Regions from separate parts of the Homo sapiens genome. Here all the other regions are linked to region 1. The links are contacts of gene promoters, found by promoter capture Hi-C in blood cells and fetal thymus (Javierre and others, 2016). All regions are on one chromosome and are shown on one strand. The core of a region is centred on a gene start or on the middle of the fragment in contact, and the rest is flanking DNA. Distances in the headings are between cores, read along the strand shown. Region 1 holds the start of FSIP1 (fibrous sheath interacting protein 1). Region 2 has its middle 14 kb from the start of BAHD1. Region 3 overlaps INAFM2 (InaF motif containing 2). Region 4 holds the start of PLCB2 (phospholipase C beta 2).

What was found. Contacts are between HindIII fragments. The CHiCAGO score rates a contact against its expected background, and 5 or more counts as called.
Region 2: a fragment that was not itself captured here is called in contact with the fragment with the promoter of FSIP1 in region 1 in 2 of 17 cell types (total B cells and naive B cells); the score reaches 6.5 in total B cells.
Region 3: a contact is called between a fragment that was not itself captured here and the fragment with the promoter of FSIP1 in region 1, in 2 of 17 cell types (naive B cells and total B cells). The highest score is 8.4, in naive B cells.
Region 4: a contact is called between the fragment with the promoter of PLCB2 here and the fragment with the promoter of FSIP1 in region 1, in 1 of 17 cell types (naive B cells). The highest score is 6.9, in naive B cells.

What each region holds. Positions count from the first base shown.
Region 1 is chr15:39,781,408-39,784,176 of GRCh38, reverse strand. It overlaps FSIP1 (fibrous sheath interacting protein 1), which reads left to right and starts at 1,336. Exons shown (of 12, transcript NM_152597.5): 1 at 1,336-1,549. LOC105370941 (a long non-coding RNA gene) reads right to left here and starts at 1,271. Exons shown (of 1, transcript NR_135665.1): 1 at 1-1,271. RefSeq lists an enhancer at 1,097-1,226 and a silencer at 1,527-1,706. The HindIII fragment of the contact is 7,042 bases long and covers 1-2,769 here.
Region 2 is chr15:40,425,730-40,428,498 of GRCh38, reverse strand. It overlaps a transcript of IVD not described here. Among named protein-coding and RNA genes, the nearest start is that of BAHD1, 14 kb to the left of the region's middle. The HindIII fragment of the contact is 7,750 bases long and covers 1-2,769 here.
Region 3 is chr15:40,325,381-40,328,149 of GRCh38, reverse strand. INAFM2 (InaF motif containing 2) reads right to left here. Exons shown (of 1, transcript NM_001301268.2): 1 at 1,435-2,769. Among named protein-coding and RNA genes, the nearest start is that of INAFM2, 3.1 kb to the right of the region's middle. The HindIII fragment of the contact is 2,698 bases long and covers 1-2,668 here.
Region 4 is chr15:40,306,542-40,309,310 of GRCh38, reverse strand. PLCB2 (phospholipase C beta 2) reads left to right here and starts at 1,376. Exons shown (of 32, transcript NM_004573.3): 1 at 1,376-1,722. The coding sequence starts at 1,639. The HindIII fragment of the contact is 15,701 bases long and covers 1-2,769 here.

The DNA of each region.
Region 1 (2,769 bases), core at 87-2,586:
TGAATTTCTTCAGTAACATCTCTAGGTCGGCTGCTAAGTTTTAATTCTCATAGGAGGATTAGGATACTTTCTCCCATTTTCTTCAGTTTGCAACTTTTTTTCTTTTGAGATTTGGAAAGCCACATAAATTCCCTGAGAAATGCTGGGAAGAAATCCCTGCACAGAAACACTAACAATGAGGACAGTGAGGCTGGAACCAGGTTTACCAGGGGAAAGCAGTAGGTAGGAGTGGAGGTCAGAGAGCCAACAGAAAGCCTTATCATTTAGAGATGATGTCAGTATGAACCTGAATGGAAGCACTGAAGTTGTGACGAATGTTTGGATTCTGAATATATTTTGAATGTTGAGCTGATAGGACAAATAGATTGTAGAGTGAGAGAGGAAGAAGAATTGAGGATGACTCCAAGGTTTTTGGTCTAGGCATGGCAGGCTGAAATTACCATTTGCTGAGATGGATAGAAAGTGGGTGGGGGACTCTGGAGAAGTTGTTTTTTCCCGTGTTAAGTTTGAGATGCTTACACATCTAAGTGGATATGCCAAATAGGCAGTTAGGTAAAGGAGTCTGGAGTTCAGGGAAGTCTGGGCTGGTGATAAGATGCAGGATTCAGGAGCATAGGGATGGCATTTATAGCCAGGTTTTTATACCCAGCACTCGCCTAGACTGCAGCTGTGTTCTTTCGGCAACTCAGCCTACGACTATTTGCTTCGCTGAAAAAAAACCACATCGTACCTAGTTAAAACAATGAGGACAAAGGGGCCATGAATGTGAAAATGCCCTGTAAACGGTAATGTGCTGTTCAGACTGGAAAGCAGGAGAAATGATGGCAATGGAGGTGAGGAAAATCAGTTTGTGGACGTAGGGAAATAATTTTCGTGCACTGAGAATTAGAGAAACTACGAAATGAAAGAAGGTGCAAAAAGCAATTATAACTCTTTTTGGACTGTAGCCGAATCTGTGCAAAACTCATATTTTTAAAATTTCCATAGCACCCCAAATTTACTAGAGCTTCACATACATGGTCTTTTTGAGCTGCACAAGTCTTGTAAGAAGGGAATTATTATTGTTCCCATTTTACGGAGGAGGAAACTGTGCTCGGAGAGGATAACTGACCTGTAAGGCATCACAGCAATATGAGGGACAGAGATACACAAGCATCCAGACGTCCGCGTTCCGAATCCAACCTAAAGACGAAAAATCGCTCCCAACCCCCACCGTCGGCAGCGAAGACGGAAGGACACACGCCGGCCGTCCCAGCTCGCAGGGCTCCAACAGCCGCCGGCCCCGGTCCCATTTCCGGATGGTACAGCCCTTTCCGCTATCGCGAGACCGGAAGCATCGCGCATCTGGTTGCCAGGGAAACAGCGGTCCCACAGGCAGGAGGGATCTGGACCGGCGGCTTCTTCCACTACCAGAGAGGCTGAGGTGGCGGGAGAGACCCCTCTCCTCTGGGGGTAAGTGGCTGGCGCGGCGAGTGTCTGCGGCGCGCTTCTGCGGCCATCTGCGCCCTGACTGACGGCGGCCAGTTCCTCGAGGAGGCCCGGCGGGAAGGTGAGGGGCCGCGCAGATGAGGGCGGAGCTCGGTCGCGGGGCGGTGCGCCGAGGAGTGGGCGGGGCGGAGCTGCGTCGGGCCGCTTGGCATGTAGATGGACTGTCAGGGAGAGCGGACAGGGCCAATGAGAGGGCGGGGGCGGGCTCATTGGGGGCGGGGCCCCAGCGGCTTCTGCCTCCGCGGAGGCTATTTCTCCAGGAATCACCTAACATTAGGACCTGTAACCAAGGCTTCTACTTTCCCGAGATTTGGATCTTCCCACCAAGATCTAGAACTGATCACCAGCCATTTAAACTAGACCGTAAACGGCAAAGGATGCAAATAGGCATTTCACAGGAAAAATAAAAAGATGCAAACAGCAAACAATTGATTAGAGACTCAACTTTTCTCGTGAAGAAATGTAAACCAAATTCACAGATACCTTTTACACCTATGAGACTGGAGAAGATGAAACAGCTTTGACATAACCAGATGGGCCCCAGCCCAGTGTAGGGGAAGTAGTGTAATTTGGTGCAGCCTTTTTGGAGTACAATTTGGCGAACTACCAAAATTTGAAACATAAGTGTTCTTTGACTCAGCAATTCTAATATATTTTATGGATGTATGAGCATAACTAAAGAAAGATTGGCACAAATATATTAACTTAAAATTGAGGTATAACTTACTTATGGTAAGCCTCACCCATTTAATCTACAGTTCTGTGAGTTTTGACAAATGTATACAGTTATGTAATTACCAACCACCACAATCAGCATACGGAAGTTTCATCATGAACCCCAAATTCCCTAGTGCTCTTTGTATTTAATCCCTCCCCTAACGCCATCCCTGGCAACAACTTCCTAGTTTTTTGTTCCTGTAATTTTGCCTATTCCAGAATGTCATATTGATGGAAGCAAACACCCTGTGGCCTTTTGAATCAGGCTTCTTTCAGCTTAGCATCATGCAGTTGCTATTCATTCATGTTCTGTGTATCAGTTGTTCCTTTATGTTGCTGAGTAATAGTCCATTGTATGGATCTACGGTAGTATATTTATCCATTTCCTACTTGAGGCATATTTGGATGAGTTCTTTCCAGTTGTTGGCTATTATTGATGAAGCTGGTATAAATATTCATGTACAGGTTTTTTTTTGTGTGTGTGAATATGTTTTCATTTCTTGGGTAAATATGAATGAGATTGTGGAGTCATATGGTAAATATATGTTTAACTTTATAAGAAAC
Region 2 (2,769 bases), core at 78-2,577, 640 kb before region 1:
CTCCTAGGGAGGGAGGGTACCAGGGGAGAGGGAGGTCCCAAAGGCCAGCCTATTTCACAACCACCTGCTTCTCCAGCCTCAAAGGACCGTAGAGTATACTTTGCCCGGGGTACCTGGGAGAGAGGGGCTGGGAAGAGGTACAAGAGGACCTGGAACTGGCTGGATCTCAATATCTAGGTGGTGATTCTGAACTGCTGCCAGCTCCGGGCCTTGGAAGCAGTCTTAGGAAGGGAGAGCAGATCTCAGCTCTCTCAAGCAGTCTCAAGCAGCAGTCATATAAAACCCACAAACAGTCCAGTCTTTTTTTTTTTTTTTTTGACACGGAGTCTCACTCTGTCACCCAGGCTGGAGTGCAGTGGCCAAATCTCGGCTCACTGCAACCTCCGTCTCCCAGGTTCAAGCAATTCTCCTGCCTCAGCCTCCTGAGTAGCTGGCATTACAGGTGCGTGCCACCACACCCAGCCAATTTTTTTATTTTTAGTAAAGACGGGGTTTCACCATGTTGGCCAGGCTGGTCTCAAACTTCTGACCTCAGGTGATCTGCCCGCCTCAGCCTCCCAAAGTGCTGGGATTACAGGCATGAGCCACCGTGCCTGGCAGTCCAGTCTTAATTAGCAACCTTGGACTGGTCTGACTCCCACCCTTCCACTCTGGGCCACTGGTGGGCTTCTGGAAAGAAAGGAGGGGCTGGGCAGGATGCAGGCCAGTTATGAAGGACATCAAGTCTTCCTTCACTACCCTTTTCTCATTTCAGGTTCCTCTTTCCCCCTATTTTAAATCTTAATATATCTTATAGTAAAGTTATCTTAATTTATCTTATAGTAAATTTCATTTAACTATTCTACTTCAACAAGTAAAGAGACCCACTGTATGCCCAGCCCTGGCCAGCCTGCAGCATCAGACAAGACTCAAGTATGAACTAAGGGATTTTGCTACTCTATTCCTGTAAATAGAAAGACTTTGCGGGAGGGGGCAGGTTGTCCTGAAAACACATGTCTTTGTAGAGGTTGCCTCTTGGGAACCCAGGCAGATGTGCAAGGGGACTCTCAAGGCAGGCCAGGCAGGCAGCCCCCAGCGCTGGGCTTATCTCCCACAAGCAGCTGCGTGTTCACGCTCCTTGCCTCTGCTCCTGCAGCGTGTCTGACAGCCTCTCTGAAAGTGTGTGCAGACGTATGCATGTCCATGTGCATGCTCACCCATGTTTGCTCCTGGACGGGCACAAGGCACAAGCTGTGTCTGAATGGATCTGGATCTGGAGCTGTGTCTCTCTCTGCCAGTGCGAGCGTAGCCCTAGTCTTCTTGCTTCCTTCCTTCCTTCTTCTGCCAGCAAGGGCAGCCCTCTGTACTTCCGCCACTGATCCACTGGCCACCTTTGAGGAGCGGAGGTACTGCCTGTGCTGAGATATTCCTGGGCCTGGAATACCTTTTTTTCTTCAAGAAAATTCCCACTTATCTATCCAGCCCTTACTCTCTCGTGTCTTCCAGGGCAAAACTGGAGCATCCGGCTGCCTGGCAGGGTAAATGGAAACGTAATTGTTGCTCTCTGAGGCTGGTCTGTGCTAAATCATTACCATCTCCCCAGCCCGTCGCCCAGTGCATGGGTCTTAGTAGCTTGCCTATAAAGGTTTGTTCAACATGTGGTTTATGGGCCTGGCTGGGGAAGCAGCGATGCACAGATGCACACTTTTGCCATCTGATTTCTCTCCCTTGCTGAAAATAAGCTCATGGGGTTAGCCCTGGGGCTGGCATTCAACTTTTGCCCCAAGTCACCTCTGGTGGCATCATTCTAATAGGCCCACAACTACTTTGGAAAACAGTTTTGAATTATCTAGTAAGGTTGATCAGGTGCATAGCCTACAACAGATAAATTATATTCCTGGGACTATGACTTGAGGAACACTTGCACATCTGTATCAGAAGATACCCACAGGAATGGTTTTTTCTTTTCTTTTTTTTTTTTTGAGACAGTGTATCGCTCTGTTGCCCAGGCTGGAGTGCAATGGTGTGATCTCGGCTCACTGCAACCTCTGCCTCCCAGGTTCTAGCTATTCTTGTGCCTCAGCCTCTAGAGTAGCTGGGATTACAGGCATCCACCACCACACCCGGCTAATTTTTGTATTTTTAGTAGAGATAGGGTTTCACCATGTTGGCCAGGCTTGTTTCAAACTCCTGACCTCAGGTGATCCACCCGCCTCGGCCTCCCAAAGTGCTGGGATTACAGGTATAAGCCACCGCGTCTGGCCAGGAATGTTTTAGAATAGCCCCAAACTGGAAACAGCCCAAATGTCCATCGACAGTAGAATGGACAATTAAATTGTTGTATTTCCACATTATGGAATACTACACAAGAAAAAAAATTGAAGAGATTACAGTCCTGCTCATTAACATGAATGAGGCTGGGCACCGTGGCTCACACTTGTAATCCCAGCACTTTGGGAGGCTGAAGCAGAAGGATGGCTTGAGCTCAGGAGACCAGCCTGGGCAACATAGTGAGACCCTGTCTCTATAACATTTAAGAAAAAAAAAAAAAAATAGCCGGACTGGGCCTTTAATCCCAGCTACTGAAGAGACTGAAGTGGGAGAATCACTTGAGCCCGGGAGGTCAAGGCTGCAGTTAGTCATGACTGCGCCGCTGCACTCCAGCCTGGGTGACAAAGTGAGGCCCTGTCTCAAAAACAATAAAAAATTTAAAAGAGCTGAGCATGGAGGCCACTTTGGGAGGCTGAGGCAGGCAGATCTCTTAAGCCCAGGAGTCTGAGACCAGCCTGG
Region 3 (2,769 bases), core at 70-2,569, 540 kb before region 1:
TCTAGGGCTGTTAGGAAGAGAAATATTTCTTATGCTTAAAACCTCAGAGAAACACTTCATTGTACCTTAACATTAATGGGGAAAGTGAAGATACCCTCACAAACTCAGCCTAATGGGTTCCTTCCCTGATCCTCCACCCCCCAAAACTTCACTTTCAAAACAGGCTTATCTCTTTCTTCAAGTTCAGGCCGTCAGGGAATAAATGAATGCACACCGTTAACTTCTAATATAAGCAAACACCTAGAAAGGGTCCTGGTAGTCCCGGTGCAAAGCCTTTGAAGGAAAGTAACCCCCTCTGCACAGATCTCTCCTTCCTGGCTTAAAACTTGATGGACAATTTTGCAGCTGATTTCTAACCCTTGGAAATAAAGCTATTCAGACCACTGCTCCTCAGCCAACCAGGCCCTGTCTCGTCGGCTAGCAGGCTCCCACTGTACATATTGCTGTATGTGCCCAACATGTGAAGCCGCCGTGGGCAGCTGTAGAAGCCACATGTCACTGTCTGCAAAAAGGAGGGGCCGACCAAAAGAGCCTTGGAAACTCTTTCACTCCCCTTCTGCTCTACCTTACCAAGCCCTCTCTCAGAAAGCCATTGTGTAGGCTGAAGAGGGAAATAAAAGAAGGGCAGACTTTTTCCATGCCTCCCTGCAGACTACAAGGTAATGTAAAAGAACAGTAGCTACCCCCCAACGGCTCTGCTGAAGTGCAGGCCTCAGGGGGCCCCACCAACACTGGCTTCTCACTCCGGATTTGTACCGGGCAGTATTGTCTAATAATGAGCTGAGCTCAATTGCTTACCATATATTTTGCAGCATAACTAATCCCTTATATTTGTGCCTTTCACCCACATGTCTTTTTTGTTTGCTTGAAGGGAAGAAAAAAACCTCACCTTTGAAGCAACCTAAACCTCTCAGCCATTTACCTCCTCCATGGTAGACAAAGCTCTGACCAAGCACCACAGATGTACACTTGCCTTTCTGGTGTTAGCACTTCTTGAGTTATCTAGAGGCCAATGGTTGAAAGGTGAGGACAGTGATGCTATCAGGCAGCTTATCCTCACCTCAGTGCTTAGCCAGCTAAATGTTTGCAGTAAATCTTAATATTCATGCTTACTGGTCCCTTAGCTTTGTCAGCTAGGCATCTGCTCTGGTAAAGCACAACTTTTTCTCAGCCTGTTTAAGGTTGGCAAAAGGTGGCTGAGCTAGAGATCACTGTTCTTCCACCCCGGGATTGCTTCCCGACTAAGATGGATTCTGCCGCCCTTCGCTAATCAATTCATTCAAGCCATCAGGCACTGAGAACAGCAGGGCAATTGCTTTTTCCTCCTCAACCTATTCATCACCATCCATCCATCACACCTCAGACCACTTACTCTTCCAACCTCTACTCCGTCCCCACGAAGCACAGTAAGAGAAATGATCAACTTACACAGGCTTAGGCAGAGTTCTTAGGATGTATTTTTGTTCACCTGAAAAATAAAACTTTTTAAAAATATACAGGACTTTTTGAGTACAGGTATATCTTAAATGGCTGAATTATAAATAATGTCTCTGGTCATGTTCACAGCTAGGGCTGGAGCAAATGTCCCAATTCCAGTGAAGGCTTTGGAGAGTCAGGAGGCCAGCAGCTGGACCTATGAGTGGCCTCTCTAGACTCTCTGATCCATCCCAAAGAGGATTTAAACAGTCCAGAAAGCAGGGATCAGGAAGAGGACAGGGAAGTGGACTCCCAGATGTTCTACAAGTTCAAAGGATTCTTGGAATAAGAGATCAATTTACAAATTATTAAAATATAGGACTAAAAATTCACACAGTAAATATAAATTACAGGCTATTATTGAAGTTGTAAAGTGGCATTTTATGTTTCTTCCCCATCTCACACCAAAAATGTAAAGGCCTCATAGGCTTCCCAATGACTGAAGTCCTAGTCAGCTGCTAAGAAATCTGCTCTAGCCAAGAGACCCTGGAGGTGTTACCAGCCTGCTGGTAGGCTGTGACAGCTCAGTTGCTATTATCGTGCCCACAACAGGACATGGCTTAAAGCAAGGCTGTTGTCCTGTAAACTTGGATCAGAGCTAACTAGAGTATAGGCCAGAAAACTGGAGAGACAAACTGTTTCAGGACTCAGGTGGGTAAGTTGTCTTTTAAAAAAAAAAATAGTGCCTCATTTCCCAAAATGGAAACACTAAGGGATTTGATATCTCATCACTACCCACACTCAATTGCCTAAAAGCAAATGGCAGAAGGAAATGGAATCCAAATTGAGGAAGTCTAGTTCTTGCTACCCCAGAGCTACATGTATGTCATTTCTCTTGATGTTTCTCATCTCCTTTATACAATTACAGGCTGCATTTAAGTAGGGCTTATCGGGAAAAGTAAAGACAGCCAATTCAACCTTCCCTCGGCTGGTCTATTAGCTGGTTCTCAAAGCACAATCCTGAGTGTGAAGCCCACCTTCCAGCCTTTCTGATTCTGTAGAATAACTCAAAACCAGAGGATGTGTAATCAAAGCTCTGGTGTTACAACAGATTTCATCCCAAATCGCCGGGCTTTGTCACTACAGGCTCAGGAAAGAGGGAAGGCAAAAGTGATTGCCGGAACAAGACAACATTTTGAGGAGCAGGAAAAAAAAAAAGATAAAAACACTTGCCACTCTACTTACAAAAGCTTGCTCTTCCTAAAAGAATTCTGTGAGGGGAAGGCCAGGATTGAAGCACAGCAGCATTGCTCTTTCCCTTCCTTCCTCCCTGGCCCATATCCAGATACTGAG
Region 4 (2,769 bases), core at 127-2,626, 530 kb before region 1:
CCCTTAGCTCCAGCCTCCACTGGGCAGTTTATTATCTTAATTCCGCATGAAGAGTGTCCTCCCTCACCCTCCACCCTGCCCTGGACCAGACCTCCAGCCGCGACAATTCTAGGGCCTGGGTGAGGGTCTTACCGTTGTTGGGGGTATGCAAAGCCCCATGGGGGGGTGACCCAGGGCAAAAGGCCAGGCCCCAGAGGGGAAGGAAGTCTTGGGTAGAGCTCCCTGCCTCCCAGGCTGGGCTAAGAAGGGCGATAAGAGGAGCAGATTAGGCAAGAGGAAGTGGGCTGGGCTGAGCTGGACTGGTGCTGAACTCCCTGGGCCTGGGGCAGAGTGTGGGTCAGGCACCTGAGCAGCTGGGGCTGAGCCTGGCCAACCAGAGCAGCCATCCCTCCGCCCCAGCCCCGCTGCAGGCTGGGGTACACAGCAGAGGCGGGCACACGGAGGAGAGAGGAGAGCGCAGTGGAGGCAGGGGCTAGGGCTGCTCAGTGGGGGTCCAGGCCTCAGGCAGTCCCAGAGGCCCAGAGGTGGGAGTCTGGTGAGGTGGGTGAGGGGAGTGATTGCCTTGCCTCATGTGCCCCTCATTTTCTTTCTTTTTTTATTTTTTTCGAGATGGAGTCTTGCTCTGTCGCCCAGGCTGGAGTGCAGTGGCGCCATCTCGGCTCATTGCAAGCTCCGCCTCCTGGGTTCATGCCATTCTCCTGCCTCAGCCTCCCGAGTAGCTGGGACTACAGGCGCCGCTGCCACGCCCAGCTAATTTTTTGCATTTTTAGTAGAGACAGGGTTTCACCGTGTTAGCCAGGATGGTCTCGATCTCCTGACCTCGTGATCCGCCCGCCTCGGCCTCCCAAAGTGCTAGGATTACAGGCGTGAGCCACCGCACCCGCCCGCCCGGCAGGTGCACCTCATTTTCATGGGGGAGGAAGCATTGAGAAAGAGGAGCCGTGTGTTCAGCAAACTTTGCTTATTCAAAACACTCCATTCCAGCTGGGCCCTGTCCCCACCCCACCCCTGCCTCTACGGTGCTCCCAACCTTTGGGGTCAGATGCCCATGCTCTGGACCCTTCCCCTGAGGAGGTCCTTTCTCCTAGTGAGCTCCCTGTGCCTTCCCTCAGTCCAGGCCTGGGCAGCAGTCTCCCCAGCTGGTCTCCATGTCGTCCTTCTCCAGCCCTCCTGGGCCAAATCTGACCAGAGACCACCACAGGGACTGAGAGGCCCTGGCTCCAAGGCGACCCGGCCTCATGACCACGTCTCCGCTGTGAGCAGCGCAGAGAAGGAAGCCCAGAGCAGGAAGTGCTGAGAGGCACAGGGTGGGGCTGGGGGTGGGGGCGGGGGCCTCCAGAAGAGGCGGGGGCTTCCTGCTTCAGCCTCCTTGGGCAGAAGCAGTGACCACAGGCCCCCATGGCAGGCAGGGCGGGTGGGAGGAGGGTGATTTACAAGGCAGATGGGCCTCTGGCTACAGCTCAGTCCTGCACTCAGCCAGGGCCACCCCAGGGGCTATAAGAGCAACTAGATTTCTGGAGCAGCTCGGGGATGGGTGCCATTTGAGCCCAGCTTGGCTCCCCCTCCTGGCTGGCCTCCTTCCTGCCCTTCTGCCTGCCTGTGTCTGCTGAGATTCTGCAAAGAGGAACGCTTGGCACCATGTCTCTGCTCAACCCTGTCCTGCTGCCCCCCAAGGTGAAGGCCTATCTGAGCCAAGGGGAGCGCTTCATCAAATGGGATGATGTAAGTGGGGCAGGGGCCTCAGCTGCTGGAGCACCAGGTGGTGGGGGCCGGGCTGCTACGGGGCTTTGCTTGGGTGGGAGGATTGGTTTATGTCTCCTAGGATCCAGGCGCCTGTGTGGTTTGGCCAGGCAGCTGACACCACTGCTTGGATAAACAAACCTGGGATTAAGGGTGTATGTCCCCAGCTAAAGGGCTAAGCCTTGGTTCTAGGTGTGAGAAGTGGGTGAGCTGCCTGGGTGGTCACTGGAGGTAGTTTATTTGGGTCTGCTTCTCTTCTCCTTCAAACCCCCAAGAGAAGAGGAGGAAAGTGCACCCCAGAGCTGAGGCAGGCTAGGAGGAGAGGTGAGCTCGTCCCCGCTCCCAGCACAGATGTCTTGCCCTTGCTCCGGCAGGGCGCTCAGACCCAGCTCCTTCACCCCCTCCACTGGGCATCATCCTGTCCAGGGAAGCCTTGCTCTCCCCTGCGCTGCTGTGGGGGCAGCCACAAAAGGCCCCTGGACCTAAGTGAGAACTAGAGGCTTCTGCTCCCAGGGAAGGAGCTGATTTGACTTCTGCTACCCCTTGCTGGGCTCAGCATTGCTCCCCGATGCAGGCCTGTCAGCAAGGGAAGGGGAAGACACTGCTGCACCCTGCAGCCCTCTCTCTGCTGTGTCTGTTCCTTCCTACACGGGGCTGCTCCCAGGCTCTGGTTCTCCTGGCCCCTGAAAATGTTACCTTAGGCCAGGGATTCTCTTAGGCTGGAGAGAACAATATGGAGATTCTCCTTCAGGGAGGGGAGGCTGCTGGGCTCGCCCAGTCTGAGAGTTAGAGTGCTGGGCTTGTCCCAGGAAGGGAAATGAAGGCTTGGTGGGGGAGGGAAGACAGCCCTTAGTGCTGACTTGTCCACCTGATGGGAGGTGGGATGAGGGGGTCTGGGTCTAGGCCCTTCGGGGCTGGGCTAGGCTAGGGGATCTCGCTGCCCATGACTATGGGTTGGGGCCCTGTGGTGAGATGCTTCCTGCTTCCCTAGGAGTGATGTGGGGTTGGTGTAGCATGGCAGTGGCATGG